5 separate regions of the Homo sapiens genome follow, and regions 2, 3, 4 and 5 are each linked to region 1. Evidence: promoter capture Hi-C in 16 types of primary human blood cells and fetal thymus (Javierre and others, 2016). All regions are on one chromosome and are shown on one strand. Each heading gives the region's core, a stretch centred on a gene start or on the middle of the fragment in contact. The rest is flanking DNA. Distances are from core to core; before and after follow the strand shown. Region 1 holds the start of CCL20 (C-C motif chemokine ligand 20). Region 2 overlaps MFF (mitochondrial fission factor). Region 3 has its middle 3.6 kb from the start of SCYGR1. Region 4 has its middle 39 kb from the start of MIR5703. Region 5 overlaps AGFG1 (ArfGAP with FG repeats 1).

Evidence for each region. Contacts are between HindIII fragments. The CHiCAGO score rates a contact against its expected background, and 5 or more counts as called.
Region 2: a contact is called between a fragment that was not itself captured here and the fragment with the promoter of CCL20 in region 1, in 6 of 17 cell types (monocytes, M2 macrophages, activated CD4 T cells and 3 more). The highest score is 10.9, in monocytes.
Region 3: a fragment that was not itself captured here is called in contact with the fragment with the promoter of CCL20 in region 1 in 2 of 17 cell types (monocytes and M0 macrophages); the score reaches 9.3 in monocytes.
Region 4: a contact is called between a fragment that was not itself captured here and the fragment with the promoter of CCL20 in region 1, in 1 of 17 cell types (monocytes). The highest score is 6.2, in monocytes.
Region 5: a fragment that was not itself captured here is called in contact with the fragment with the promoter of CCL20 in region 1 in 2 of 17 cell types (M2 macrophages and monocytes); the score reaches 5.2 in M2 macrophages.

What each region holds. Positions count from the first base shown.
Region 1 is chr2:227,812,483-227,815,273 of GRCh38, forward strand. CCL20 (C-C motif chemokine ligand 20) reads left to right here and starts at 1,360. Exons shown (of 4, transcript NM_004591.3): 1 at 1,360-1,505. The coding sequence starts at 1,430. The HindIII fragment of the contact is 16,817 bases long and covers 1-2,791 here.
Region 2 is chr2:227,332,136-227,334,926 of GRCh38, forward strand. It overlaps MFF (mitochondrial fission factor), which reads left to right. Exons shown (of 9, transcript NM_001277062.2): 4 at 284-453. Among named protein-coding and RNA genes, the nearest start is that of MFF, 8.3 kb to the left of the region's middle. The HindIII fragment of the contact is 1,684 bases long and covers 555-2,238 here.
Region 3 is chr2:227,382,945-227,385,735 of GRCh38, forward strand. No RefSeq gene overlaps it. Among named protein-coding and RNA genes, the nearest start is that of SCYGR1, 3.6 kb to the right of the region's middle. The HindIII fragment of the contact is 4,202 bases long and covers 1-2,791 here.
Region 4 is chr2:227,431,488-227,434,278 of GRCh38, forward strand. No RefSeq gene overlaps it. Among named protein-coding and RNA genes, the nearest start is that of MIR5703, 39 kb to the right of the region's middle. The HindIII fragment of the contact is 1,364 bases long and covers 695-2,058 here.
Region 5 is chr2:227,490,239-227,493,029 of GRCh38, forward strand. AGFG1 (ArfGAP with FG repeats 1) reads left to right here. Exons shown (of 13, transcript NM_004504.5): 2 at 1,309-1,402. Among named protein-coding and RNA genes, the nearest start is that of AGFG1, 19 kb to the left of the region's middle. The HindIII fragment of the contact is 1,066 bases long and covers 863-1,928 here.

The sequences.
Region 1 (2,791 bases), core at 110-2,609:
GTTCAGCCTGGGCAACATGGTGAAACCACGTCTCTACTAAAAATACAAAAATTCGCTGGGCGTGGTGGCACGTGCCTGTAGTCCCAGCTACTCAGGAGGCTGAGGCAGGCGAATCGCTTGAACCCAGGAGGCGGAGGTTGTAGTGAGCCGAGATGGTGCCACTGCACTCCAGCCTGGGCAACAAGAGCAAAATTCTGTCTCAAAAGAAATTATAATAATAAAATAAAATAAAATTTCCTATTCTTCCCTTCAATTCTGTCAGTTTTTGCTTTCTGTAGTTTGGGGTGCTACTGTTAGGTATATATATGGTTATAGGTTTTACATCTTCCCAATGGGTTAATTTTGTGTTACCATGAAAGTCCCTTTTTATTTCCGGTAACATTAAAAAAAAATCTATTTTGTCTGATATAGGCATCACCAACTCCAGTTCTCTTTTGTTTACTGTTTGGTATACCTTTCTTTTGATCCTTTTACTTTCAACCTATTTGGGTCTAGTGGAGAGTTCTTATACTGCCTTAGGTTAGGGATTCATATTACATTATCATCATTAGTACTGTTATTTGACATTTGCTGTGCTGACTAGCTACTGCTGATAGGTTTTCTTTCCTCAACAATTCTGAGGCTCTATATTGAGTTATATTAGTACATCATCATGGAGAGTTAAAGGTAGGTAAGGATTATTTTCTGAACTGCAATATTGATTAAAGCCATGTGAATGTATAAGATTCTTAGAAGAGTTGACATTAAATCAAGGTGAAGCTGAGGTTTGAGCCTTACTTAAAGGCTGATATTTTCCACTCTAACTGCGGACAGTACTGTAGCACTGTTATAGTACCTGCTCTGAATGTTAGTCTAGCAACTCAGGGTCTTCTTCATGACAGCTGAACCTCAACCATGTGATGGTAAATGTGTAGCAGAGTATGCCTGGCATCCCACCTGCTCCTCCTCCCCCTCCTCCTTGACTGGTTCTGGAAAGCAAATAGGGTGTAACAATAGGAGTTCTGGAATGTTCCTGTGTGGGGCTGACCTTTGTATCGCTGTTAATCCTCTATTTTCAGACACAAAAATGATTAAGTTAAAACTGGATGAAAGTCTTTTCTGGGTCACAGGGCTGAGCTGCTTTTGCTCTTTGCAAATACAAAGAATTTAACAGGATTCTCCCCTTCTCAACTTCCTGTCCCCCACCCTGACCTTCGCACCTTCCCAATATGAGGAAAAAGCAGGAAGTTTTCCTTGCGGGTTTTTTTTATGATGACATGATGGGGCCAGTTGATCAATGGGGAAAACCCCATGTGGCAACACGCCTTCTGTGTACATTCCCAATATTTGCTATAAATAGGGCCATCCCAGGCTGCTGTCAGAATATAACAGCACTCCCAAAGAACTGGGTACTCAACACTGAGCAGATCTGTTCTTTGAGCTAAAAACCATGTGCTGTACCAAGAGTTTGCTCCTGGCTGCTTTGATGTCAGTGCTGCTACTCCACCTCTGCGGCGAATCAGAAGGTAAGTGTCGCTCTTTCCGCTAGCACAGAAGAAAGACTATTTTCATTTTCCTTTTAGCCTTGAGCTCAACTGGGGGTCCCTAAGGGATGGAAAACTGTTAGGAAGTATACAAGAGGTAGTGATGGAAGTTGTCTGCCCATGGTGGAGTGGAGGAGAGAAGAGTTACTGCTGCGGATCAGGCTTTCCTCTCTGCTGTCAATCTCAGCAGATTTGGGGAGTGGTGGGCTCTTAGAGATCCCTAAACTTCAGGATAAAGCCAAAGTGATGTTTCTGGGAGTGATATAAAGTGTGTAATGTTACCAGTAGATGGGGCCATTTTGAAATGTAGAGAATCCTCCTGTGTCCCCAACTTTCGTACCTCCCAACTTAATAGTTTTGGTAAAGTTCAAAACTCATCCTTTAGAAGTAGATTATAATACCTGACATCAACATCCCCACAAGGCATGGGGGACATTGCTTGCCAACTTTAAAATAACATTAATCCCTTACCTTACAGCATGTTGTAATCTGACTCGGGAATGTCCAAGTATTGCTTTATTGCTCAATAGTCACACAACACTTTTAGCAACAGGTGCATTCCTAAAAATGCACATTGAATTTTTTTTTTTTTCTGAGGCAGGGTCTAACTTCATCACCCAGGCCAGAGTGCAGTGGCATGATTACAGCTCACTACAGCCTCAACCTCCTGGAGTCAAGTGAACCTCCAGTCTCAGCCTCTTGAATAACAGGGACCACGGCCGTGTGCCACTCACCTGGCTAATTTTTTTACATTTTTTTTTTTTTTGTAGAGACAGGGTTTCACTGTGTTGCCCAGGCTGGTCTCGAACTCCTGGAGGCAAGCAATCCTTCCTCCTTGGCCTCCCAAAGTGCTGGGATTACAGGCATGAGCCACCATGCCCAACCACATGTTGAACTTTTATGAACAAAATTAAACATTCCTATTAATTAATAGGACAATTTCAAAGTGTTTTCACTCCTATAAATCATATTTCCCTTTGTAGCTCTATTTCTCAATACTTAGTAGCCAGATAATAGATTAAAATCTGCCAATTTATTCATTTTCTGCTTTTGGAAGTTTATCTACATAAGGGTTCCTTCAAGCAGTAGGGAAGGGGCTGCTCATATTCTTGAATGATTATAGTGAACTGAAATGAAATATTGTCAATTTGTATTTCTTACTGAAGATATCCCACTTATGAGAAGTCCTGTGTTTCTCAATTCTATTATTGAACCAAAACTTCTCGGCACACAAACTGTTTTTTCAAAGAACTGTAAACTATGTTAGA
Region 2 (2,791 bases), core at 147-2,646, 480 kb before region 1:
TAATTTTTTTGTATTTTTAGTAGAGACGGGGTTTCACCGTTTTAGCCGGGATGGTCTCGATCTCTTGACCTCGTGATCCGCCCGCCTCGGCCTCCCAAAGTGCTGGGATTACAGGCGTGAGCCACCGCGCCCGGCCTGGAAGCATATTTTGAAAGAAACTAATGCTTATTGGGTGGTATAATTCAAAAGCAGAAGAAGGTAAATACATTTTAACAAAAATCACTGTCTTTTTAAAAAACCTCCCGCTTTTCTCTTCTTTGTCTCTTTTCTTGAAAACTCCTAGGAAATAATGAAGATGTTTCATTTTCAAGACCAGCAGATCTTGACCTTATTCAGTCAACTCCCTTTAAACCCCTGGCACTGAAAACACCACCTCGTGTACTTACGCTGAGTGAAAGACCACTAGATTTTCTGGATTTAGAAAGACCTCCTACAACCCCTCAAAATGAAGAAGTAAGTAGAACTTTAGTATCACCGGAATTTGAAATAATGTAGACAAAGGTAAAAGAGAAGAGCAAAGAGGCTTTATCATATCTTTAGCAATATGTCATGAAAGCTTTCCATATGGAACATTACTAATAATTCTAATTTACAAATGTGCCAAATAAGTTATTATGCTATTTTTAAAATTTGAATATTATGTTTTAGGAAAAATGTAAGTTTTGTGGTAAGTATTATTAAGTTCCTGTGGTTTGAAGAAAGAGCCTTTATGGGTAGGTGTTACTTGTTAAATAATAAGAAAATGTTGGGAAGTTTAGCAATAAGAAGTAAATGTATCACTTTGTTATAAAATCAGTCTAGCAAACAGGGCAAAGAAAACCCTTTTTCGCTTGACACTACCCATTCTCGCTACTTGATTAAAAGTTTCTACTGAGCTACTCTACTGCATCACGTTAATGTGCCAGTTGACCTAAATGTAGCAGTGTAGACTAACAAGGTGTTAGTAACAGAGTTCGAATCCTGCCTTTGTCATTGACTTACAGCTAACCTTTGAAGCTGCTTTGCCGTGATGATTGCTGGGGTTACATCTTTTTCATATAGCTTTTGAACTTCTAACATGTTGTCATGAAGCTAGTATGAGACAATGTGCAAACATATGTTTTTATTAATAATGGTACTGCTTGTGTCTGGTTTCATTTTGCATGTAATACTTTCCAAAGAGGGTAAAGCACCCATACTGTCTAGGGCAATGCAATTTTCTAGGATTAGGTTCTTAGATTGTAAGTTTCTGCTGACATAATTGAGGTAATATGCTCACAGTTAGTTTGGATATTCTAGGTATTTGGTGAAAAGCACTAAATCTGAGCCTTTACATGACAGAAAGGCACTAACATACTTGCAGAATTGTATTATTTAACAAACATTTTTTAACTTTTATCTCTGAGATACTATATGCAGTATAGGAATTAATGAGACATAGTTCCTGCATTCAAAAAGTTTGCTGTCTGTCTGGTTTCAGCAGGACAATGATATGAGTGAGGGAAAGACATCAACGCATGCAGAAGATACAAAATTCTTTAATAGCAGAAAATAATGAAAGTTACCAAGATGGTTACATAAAACAAAAGTATCCAGTGTGCTCCCAGTTTAAGGCCCAGCTTTCTAACTCCCCAAAGTTCCTTGGGAATTATACCTGTGAAAATAATTGTCTTACAGTGACGATTTTGCCAGGAAAGAAATGCTCCTTATTGTATTCTTCGGGTTTTTCTGTTGGTCTTTCTGCTTCTCCTAATTGAAAGCAACCCAAGCAATTCCCTGATTGATTATTTTAAGAGTGAGTGAAGAAAGTTTGCCGGGATTTCCCTCAGTAGACCCAGGCTTTAAGACTCTACGGGGTTCATTCCTGCATTAATTGTGATATTTAGTCAAATGTGATAGATGTTCAGAGTGTATAACACTGGGGTAAAAAAGTTTGTGTGAGAATTAGAACTAATTTTGAAGACCTACTTTGCCATTTACTAACCACATAACTTTGGGCAAGTTATTTAACAGTTCTAGGGCGTATCTCTGAAATAAAGATAAGAATAATGCCAAGTGCATGAGATTGTTATGAGAATTAAATGTAATCATGCATGTTCTAATTCGTGTTAAAAGCTCAATATATATAAATGTTATTGTTAGGAGAGACTTAAAATCCTGTGGCAGGAGCCAGATCCTGAAATGAAAGACGAGTTTCTGAGATTAATACCAGCTGCTTATTGAAAGCAAAGATGATGGTTTGGACTTCAAGTTTATACAAGCTTATAGAAGGGTCCAGTAGCCTTCAAGAAGCACTCAACTGCAGTGAGCAAGGGAGGAAGGGGTAAGGGAGCCAGGGTTCTAGTAGCTTCTAGAAATTGACTGAAATAGAGAAGCAGTAAGGGCCTGAGTACTGATAACATTGATGATTCATTCAGGTGTTAACTCAGAATCGATAAAGTGAGATCCCCAGAACATTTGCTCTGTATCATTCTGCAGTGGATGCTAGAATGAGGTAGAGCAATAGTGCTCTACCTCAGCACTGTTGGCATTTTGGACTGGAAAATTCCTTGTTGTGGTGAGAGCCACCTTTTTGCACTGTAGAATGTTTGCAACATTTGTGATCTCTATCTACAAGATGCCATTACCGTCTTCCAAGTCATGATATCCAAAAATGTCTGTAATAGCAAAAAGGTGGAAGCAAGTAAAATATCCATCAGCTGATGAATGGATAAGCAAAACATCATCTAGCCATATAGTAACTCTTATTCAGCCATAAAAAAATGAGGTACTGGCTGGGTGCGGTGGCTCATGCCTGCAATCCCAGCACTTT
Region 3 (2,791 bases), core at 119-2,618, 430 kb before region 1:
CCAAGTGATCTGTGCCCAGTTAAAACTGGGGAGAACGAGACCAAGGGTATTGGGTAGGCAACTAGAAGTCTCTACCATATTTAAATTCATGAGCTTAACCAGGCTTGGTGGCTCACACCTATAATCCCAGCTACTTGGGAGGCTGAGGTGGGAGGAGTGCTTGGGGCCAGGAATTCAAGACCAGCTAGGGCAACATAGAAAGACCCCATCCCTACAAAAAATAAAAATAACAGCCAGGCACGGTGGCTTATGCCTGTAATGGCAGTGATTTGGGAGGTTGAGGTGAGAGAATCATCTGAGGTGAGGAGTTTGAGACCAGCCTGGAGACCCCATGTCCACAAAAATATTTAGCCAGGTATGGTGGCACATACCTAAATCCCCACCTACTCAAGAGGCTGAGGCGGAAGGATTGCTTGAGCCCAGAAGTTGGAGGTTGTAGTGAGCTATGATCATGCCACTGCACTCCAGCCTGAACGACAGAGTGAGACCCTTCTGTAGAAAAAGAAAAATAAATAAAAATAATAAAAATACAATACAATACAATGAAATCATGAACGCTGCTGGGAGAAACAGAGAAACCAATCTATACAAACAGAAGGAGGAGGAGAGACAGAGAGGAGAAATATGCAGGAAGAGGAGGTAGGAGACCACACAGCTTTAGAGGGTGGTAGAGAAAGGGTGACTGCTTGGTTTCTCAATGGCATTTTACGTCTTAATTTCTACCCTATGAAAACTGACTGCAGACTCTGTCTTTGTTTTCTATGAGATGCCTCTATATTATTATCCTTTCATATTGTTTTTAGTGGGTTTCTATTTTTCTGCAACCAAAAGAGCTAAAACTAAAAGTTGCTAAAACCAAGGATGGAAAAGTATGCAAATAACTTGTCACATGGCGTGCCAAAACAGCAAAAGCCTTGGAGTTCAGAAAAAGGAAGATTCCATCAAGAAGGGCTGGGAGCCAGGATTCCACACAGCTTTGGAGCGTGGCTAGAATTTGGTATAAAAGATAGAAGGGCGTTTCATAGACTAGTGTCAGTTAGTTGCAGAAAACTGAAATTCTAGCTATGGAATTGGGAAGAGATGTAATGGGAGAATCATGTGTACAAAATTGCTGGAAGGGCTAGAAAAGCAGCCTCTAGACTTATCTGCAGAAATGCTTCGCAGGTCCCGACTGCTGAACTGGCCCGGGAGATGCCGCTGTCCCTGCAGTAGCCAAAAAGGCAGGGAAGGCTGGGCACTGTGGCTCAAGCCTGTAATCCCAGCACTTTGGGAGGCCAAGGTGGGTGGATCACCTGAGGTTAGGAGTTTGAGACCAGCCTGGCCAACATGGTGAAACCCCGTCTCTATTAAAAATACAAAAATTGGCCGGGTGTGATTGCAGACGCCTGTAATCCCAGCTGCTTGGGAGTCTGAGGCAGGAGAATCACTTGAACCTGGGAGGCGGAGGTTGCAGTGAGCCAAGATCACGCCACTGCACTCCAGCCTGGGCAACGAGAGCGAGACTCTGTCAAGAAAAAAGGCGGGGACATCAAGAAGCCACCTCTGGAACGATTAAGTTCACAAACACCCCAGTACGGCTGCGGTCCAGGAACCATTGCCGCTGTTGTCATCACCACTCTGCACACCCCGGGTTAGTGATTGAATGCTACAACACTGAATTTACCTCCGCCTCCTGGGCTGAAGTGATTCTCCTGCCTCAGCCTCTCAAGTAGCTGGGATTATAGGCACCTGCCAACACGCCCAGCTAATACAAAAATTGGTTGGGTGGGGTGGTGGGTGCCCAGCTGACTACAGCTGCCTCTGCAACTGGTTATTAACTTGCATGACGCTATCTGGACCCAGGAACATTGCTGCAGTGCAGAAAACTCAACTCCTCCACCCTAATCTTCCTTATCAGCAACAACAGATAAAAGGTGGAGGAAAATGACCTTCACCTCATTTCTGCCTTTTATACCCCTCAGGGGTTGATCTAATTCTTGCAATATCCAGATCCCAGATGCAGAGAATTCTGTGCCATGTAATTTCTAATCATCTCAGCCTCTGCTATATGGAAAAAAAGCAAATACTAGAGGGACATGGAAATGGCTATTGAGCAAGAGAGTTCACCATAGCCACCACTATGATCTCATTTAAATGGTACGGAGGAAACTTTCTCTAGAATATCTAGATCCTTTTATAAGAATCTGAACCATGTTTGTGCTTGTAACTCTAGAATGACATGCAACATTTTAAACAACAAATCAAAACTACCTAGTTAATTCAAATGAGAACAGTGTTAATGGTATTAGAAAAACTTGTGTTTGGCACGGTGGCTCACGCCTGTAATCCCAGCACTTTGGGAGGCCCAGACAGGTGAATCACTTGAGCCCAGGAGTTTGAGACCAGCCTGGGCAATGTGGTGAGACCCTGTTTCTACAAAAAAATACAAAAAATAAGCCAAGCATGGTAGCACACATCTGTGGTCCCAGCTACTCAAGAGGCTGAGGTGGGAGGATTGCTTGAGCCTGGGAAGCGGAAGTTGCAGTGAGCCGTAATCACACTACTGCACTCCAACCTGGGTGACAGAGTGAGATGCTATCTCAAAAAGAAAAAAAAAAAAGAAAAACTTTTCTTTGAAGAATGATCTACTGCAGGGACCAGTTTCACTACTTCCAGGGGAAATTCATGTGATACAAATGGGAATTAAACACCCACCAGAGTTACCTCAGGGTATCCCCTTCTAAACACACTGCAGTCAAATCAGCTAGGAGTTTTACTAGAACGTGAGCTTTATATGGTAGACACAGCTAAC
Region 4 (2,791 bases), core at 127-2,626, 380 kb before region 1:
AAAAGTCTTAACTAGTTCCAGTATCAACTCAGTCAAAAGTCTTAACTAGTTCCAGCATCAACTCAATCAAAAGTCTTAACTAGTTCCAGCATCAACTCAATCAAAAGTTGTAACTAGTTCCAACATCAGCTCAATCAAAAGTCGAAAGTCTCACCTGAGGCTCAAGGAAAATTTCTTCTACCTATGAGCCTCTAAAATAAAAAACGAGTTCCAAGATACAATGGCTGTACAGGCATTGGGTAAACATTCCTATTCCAAAAGGGAAATTGGCCAAAAGAAAGGGACAATAGGCCCCACACAAGTCCAAAGCCCAGCAGGAAAGACATTAAACTTTAAAGCTCCAGAATAATCCTTGACTCCATGTCCCACAACCAGGGTACACTGGTGTGAGGAGTGGGCTCCCAATGCCTTGGCCAGTTCCACCCCTGTGGCTTTGTAGGGTACAGCCCCCATGGCTGCTCTCATGGGTTGGAATTGAATGCCTGCAGCTTTCCAGGCTTAGGGTGCAAGCCGCTGGTGGCTCTACCACTCTTGGGTCTGGCAGACAGCAACCTCCTTCCCACAACTGCACTAGGAAGTGCCCCAGTGAGGACTCTCTGTGGGGGCTCCAACTACACATTTCCCCTTGTATTGACCTAGTAGAGGCTTTCTGTATGGGCTCTACCCATGAGGCAGGCTTCTGCCTGGACAACCAAGCTTTCCCAGAGATCCTCTAAAATCTAAGGGGAAGCTGCCAAACCTCTTTTACTCTTGCATTATGTGTGCCTGCAGACTTGCCACCACATAGAAACTGCCAAGGCTTAAGGCTTGTGATCTCCAAAGCAGCAGCCAGTTCTATGCATAGGGCCCTTTGAGGCATGCTGGACCTGGGGCTGGAGCAGCCAGGACGTGGGCAGCAGCCTCTCCTGAGTGACACAGAGAAGTGGGGCCCTGAGCCTGATCCCCGTAACCATTGTTGGTTTTTTTTTTTTGAGACAGAGTCTCGCTCTGTCGCCCAGGCTGGAGTGCAGTGGTGCGATCTTGGCTCACTGCAAGCTCCGCCTCCTGGGTTCACGCCATTCTCCTGCCTCAGCCTCCTGAGTAGCTGGGACTACAGGCGCCCACCACCATGCCCAGCTAATTTTTTGTATTTTTAGTAGAGATGGGGTTTCATCAAACCAGGATGATCTCGATCTCCTGATCTTGTGATCTGCCCACCCCGGCCTCCCATAACCATTCTTTTCTCCTAGGCCTTTGAGTCTGTAATGGAAGGGACTGTCCTGAAAACTTCTGAAATGCCTTCTGAAAAGTACTTGGCTCCCTTTTAGTCATGCAAATTACTCTAGCAAGTGGTTGCTTTGCAGCCCACCTCAATTCCTCTCCTGAAAACACTCTTTCCTTTTCTACCACATGGCAGATGCAGATTATCTAAATTAGCAGATTATCTAAATTTTTATGTTCTGCTTTTCCTTATAAGTTCCAACTTTATGTGTTTCCTTTTCTCCCAAATCGATCATAGGTTATTAAAAACAGCCACATCATTTCTTAAACACCTTGCTGCTTAGAAATTTCTTTTGCCAGATAACCTACATCATTGCTCTTAAGTTCAACCTTTCATAAGTGCCTAGGGCATGGACACATTGCAGCCAAGCTCTTTGCTAAGGCATAACACATGTGATTTTTAGTCCAGCTCCCAACAAATTTCTCATTTCCATCTGAGTCCTCATTAGCCGGGCCTTCACTATCCATATTTGTATCCACATTTTGGTCACATTCATTTAACCAGTCTCTAAGAAGTTCTAAACTTTCCCTTATTTTCCTGTCTTCTGAGCTCTCCAAACTCTTTAAACTTCTGCATATTACCCAGTTCCAAAGATGCTTCCACATGTTCAGGTAACTTTATAGCAACAAACACCCCACTCCTGGTACCAATTTTCTGTATTACTCCATTTTATGTCGCTATAAAGGAATATCTAAGACAAGGTAGTTTATTTTAAAAAAAGGTTATTTGGCTCATGGTTCTGCAGGCTGTACAAACATGGCACCAGCATCTATTTGGCTTTTGGTGAGGTCTCAGGAAGCTTTTACCTGTGGTGGATGCCACAGAGGGAGCAGGCATGTCACATGGTGACAGAGAAAGCAAGAAGGTGGGTGGAGGGGGGTGTGTTCCAGACTTCTTTAAACAACCAGCTCTCATGTGAGCTAACAGAGCAAGAACTCATTCATTACCATGGGGACTGCACTGAGCCACTCATGAGGAATCCATCTTCATGACCCAAACACCTCCCACCAGGCCCCACCTTCAACATTTGGGATCACATTTCTTTTTTTTTTTTTTTTTTTTTTCTTTTGAGACAGAGTTTCACTCTTGTTGCCCAGGCTGGAGTGCAATGGCGCAATCTCGGCTCACTGCAACATCCATCTCCTGGGTTCCAGTGATCCTCCTGCCTCAGCCTCCTAAGTACCTGGGATTACAGGCATGCACCACAATGCCTGGCTACTTTTTTGTATTTAGAAAAGACAGGGTTTCACCATGTTGGTCAGGCTGGTCTTGAACTCTTGACCTCAAGTGATCCACCCGCCTCAGCCTCCCAAAGTGCTGGGATTACAGGTGTGAGCCACCACACCCAGCTGGGATCACATTTCAACATGAGATTTGGAAGGGACAAAAAACACCCAAACCATATCAATAATTCGGTAGTATTTCTGGTAATATTCATTGAGATCCACTATATTCTTCAACATTTATACTCATGAACATTTTTCTCTTAAGATGAGAGAATCTCAATTGGCCAGAATCAATTAAGTAGAA
Region 5 (2,791 bases), core at 146-2,645, 320 kb before region 1:
AATTAGTGTGAATGATTACAAATTGACTGACAAATTCTTTAAAAATATTACTGCAGTTGGCCGGGCGTGGTCGCTCACGCCTGTAATCCCAGCACTTTGGGAGGCCGAGGCAGGTGGATCACGAGGTCAGGAGATTGAGAACATCCTGGCTAACACGGTGAAACCCTGTCTCTACTAAAAATACAAAAAATTAGCCGGACGTGGTGGCGGGTACCTGTAGTCCCAGCTACTCAGGAGACTGAGGCAGGAGAATGGCGTGAACCCGGGAGGTGGAGCTTGCAGTGAGCCGAGACTGCGCCACTGCACTCCAGCCTGGGCGACAGAGCGAGACTCCGTCTCAAAAAAAAAAAAAAAAATTACTGCAGTAATTGCTGTAGAACCTAGAGTTCAAATGAGACCTTTGTCAGAGAACATGACCCCAAAGTAGTTCTGTGGAACTTTGCGTAGGTTACTTGGTATTTTGCATAGATTATTGGGCCATTATTCTTGTGGGTGGACCTGCCCACAAGATAGTTGGACAACATGTAAATAGTTATTAAATCTGTTTGAGTGCATTTCCACTCGGTTTTTCATGTGCGTGTTCAAACATCAAGGTAAAGTCCTTTTAAGGCCATCCATACAGAAAAGGCTTCAGGGTTCTAAAGGACCTTAAAAATTGTTAAATCATGCATGCAGCAATTTTTTTGAATCTCTTCCGTATGTCCCTGCAGTTTCCTCTTGTACACACTGTCTTTTGAGGTGACTGAAAATGTTCTTTATTATAAATTCTTACTTGAATTGATGGCAAGATAGGACTTTACTAATTGGTTTATTACCTCAATTCATGATATTACTTGTAATATAGTTTTCTAAATTAGTCTTAAGCTTATTTAAAGCTAACAGCTGTTTGATAAGGATATTTGTATAGCTCTGGTCTTATTATATCATTGTTTCTTAGGAAATATGAAATATTTAAAGAATTTTAATAATTCTTTCATAGAGTTCTTCATATGTATAGTCTTTTCATCAGAAACACACTAAAGCACTATTTGCATTTCCTAGAAACTCATGTGTCACAGTTACTTTGTGTTTTTAACTAGGTGGTTAATTGAATTTATTGTTAAGTCTATTATTTAATGAGTCTAACCAAACCTTAATATCTATTATTAAGTTTAATAGTTTAAAATAATTTAAAAATACTTTGAGTTTATGGAATGAAAACACTGTTTCAAGTTTGTGTGTTGGTTAGAAATATTTTGAATTACTAGATGTGTCATTTTAAAAATGTGGTATGTACTAGTAAATTTTGTAAAATATTTTATCTTTTAGGCGAGGATTAAATCCACCACACAGGGTGAAATCTATCTCCATGACAACATTCACACAACAGGAAATTGAATTCTTACAAAAACATGGAAATGAAGTAAGTGGTTTTTTTTTTTTTTTGCAATTTTTGACTTTTTTGTTGGCAGTCATTTTAATGAGATTTAATAAGTTATTTAAAACGTTGAATTTCACGGTCTAAATAAGTTATTTTTGTATTTTATATTTAGATATTTTAAAATGTACTCATTTAATAATGTATTTGGAATTAATGTTTACTACATAAACACTTTACCGTAAATCTGAGGTGAAATGTGTGTATTTAAAAGTCATCAGTCTTGAATATAAAAGGCGTTTCGGAGGACACCCATTATTACAGTTATTGTTAGTCTTCGCTTCAAAAGTCAAAAAAGAGGAAGAGAATTCATTTTGTGATGTTGTGTTAAACTTGTTAGAGTGTTGTGTGATCAGCTTTCACTTGAAGTCCTCTATTTTTCGTAAATTTTTAACTTTGGACGTGTAGGTGATGTGTAATGTTTAGCAGGTGCTCAGTAGGGAGGAGGTTAGTAGTTCTCAGTGGCAGCTAAGTGTCATGGGGAGCCAGATGGTATAAAGATTTGGATGGAAGCTTTTTTTCTTCTTGCCTTTAATGGGCTTCCAGTAATTCTATTCTGTTTGCTTGTTTGCTTTTAGCTCTGTGTTTTGCTATTAGTAAAAGTTTTTAAAATTTTTCTAATATTTTTAAAATTAATAAAATTAACAAAGAGAGTGGGCATTTTTTTATAATCCTGCAATAAGGATGAGCCAGTTAACCCAAGCTGATTAATAATAGCTATTATTATTTGACAGAAAAGTCTCCTTTTCTAGAAAGGATAAGTAGTACTTTAGTGGTACTCTTCTGGTTGCATCTTTGATATCCTTAATAAACATAAAGTAAGTTAAATATTAAAATTTTATTAGTTTTAATCTTCTCCTTGGACCCTTAGAAAATATATGCAAGCATTTTACACTCTGCCTTTCTTCCTAATACTCTGAAAGTAATACCTTAAAATTGTTTGCCTACTTGTGATGTCCACTTGCTTTTGGTTCTAAAATAGTGAGGAAATATAAATTCACAGCTATGAAATATTTTTAAATATTTCATATTAAATTATTTAAAGAAGAGAGCACATTTTGAAGTCTCCAGATTTTGCCGATGACAAATTATTTTGAGTATTCAGATTCCAGACTAATGTGAGTACATTATAAGAACATGTAAAGCTGGATGAAAAGGTAGGAGGCTTTTAATGAAGAGTAAGCATAGAATAATATATATATTGATTAAAATACAATTTGAACTACTTGTGTAAAGTTTACAAGTAGGATTAACTTAACATTGCACACTTGAAGTTACTTTCTTAGAATGTTGGCTTAGTGTGCAAAATTTTGGAAATTAGAATGGAATCAGAAATAAAGAATATTATTCTATCTTTAGATTAAAAATATGACA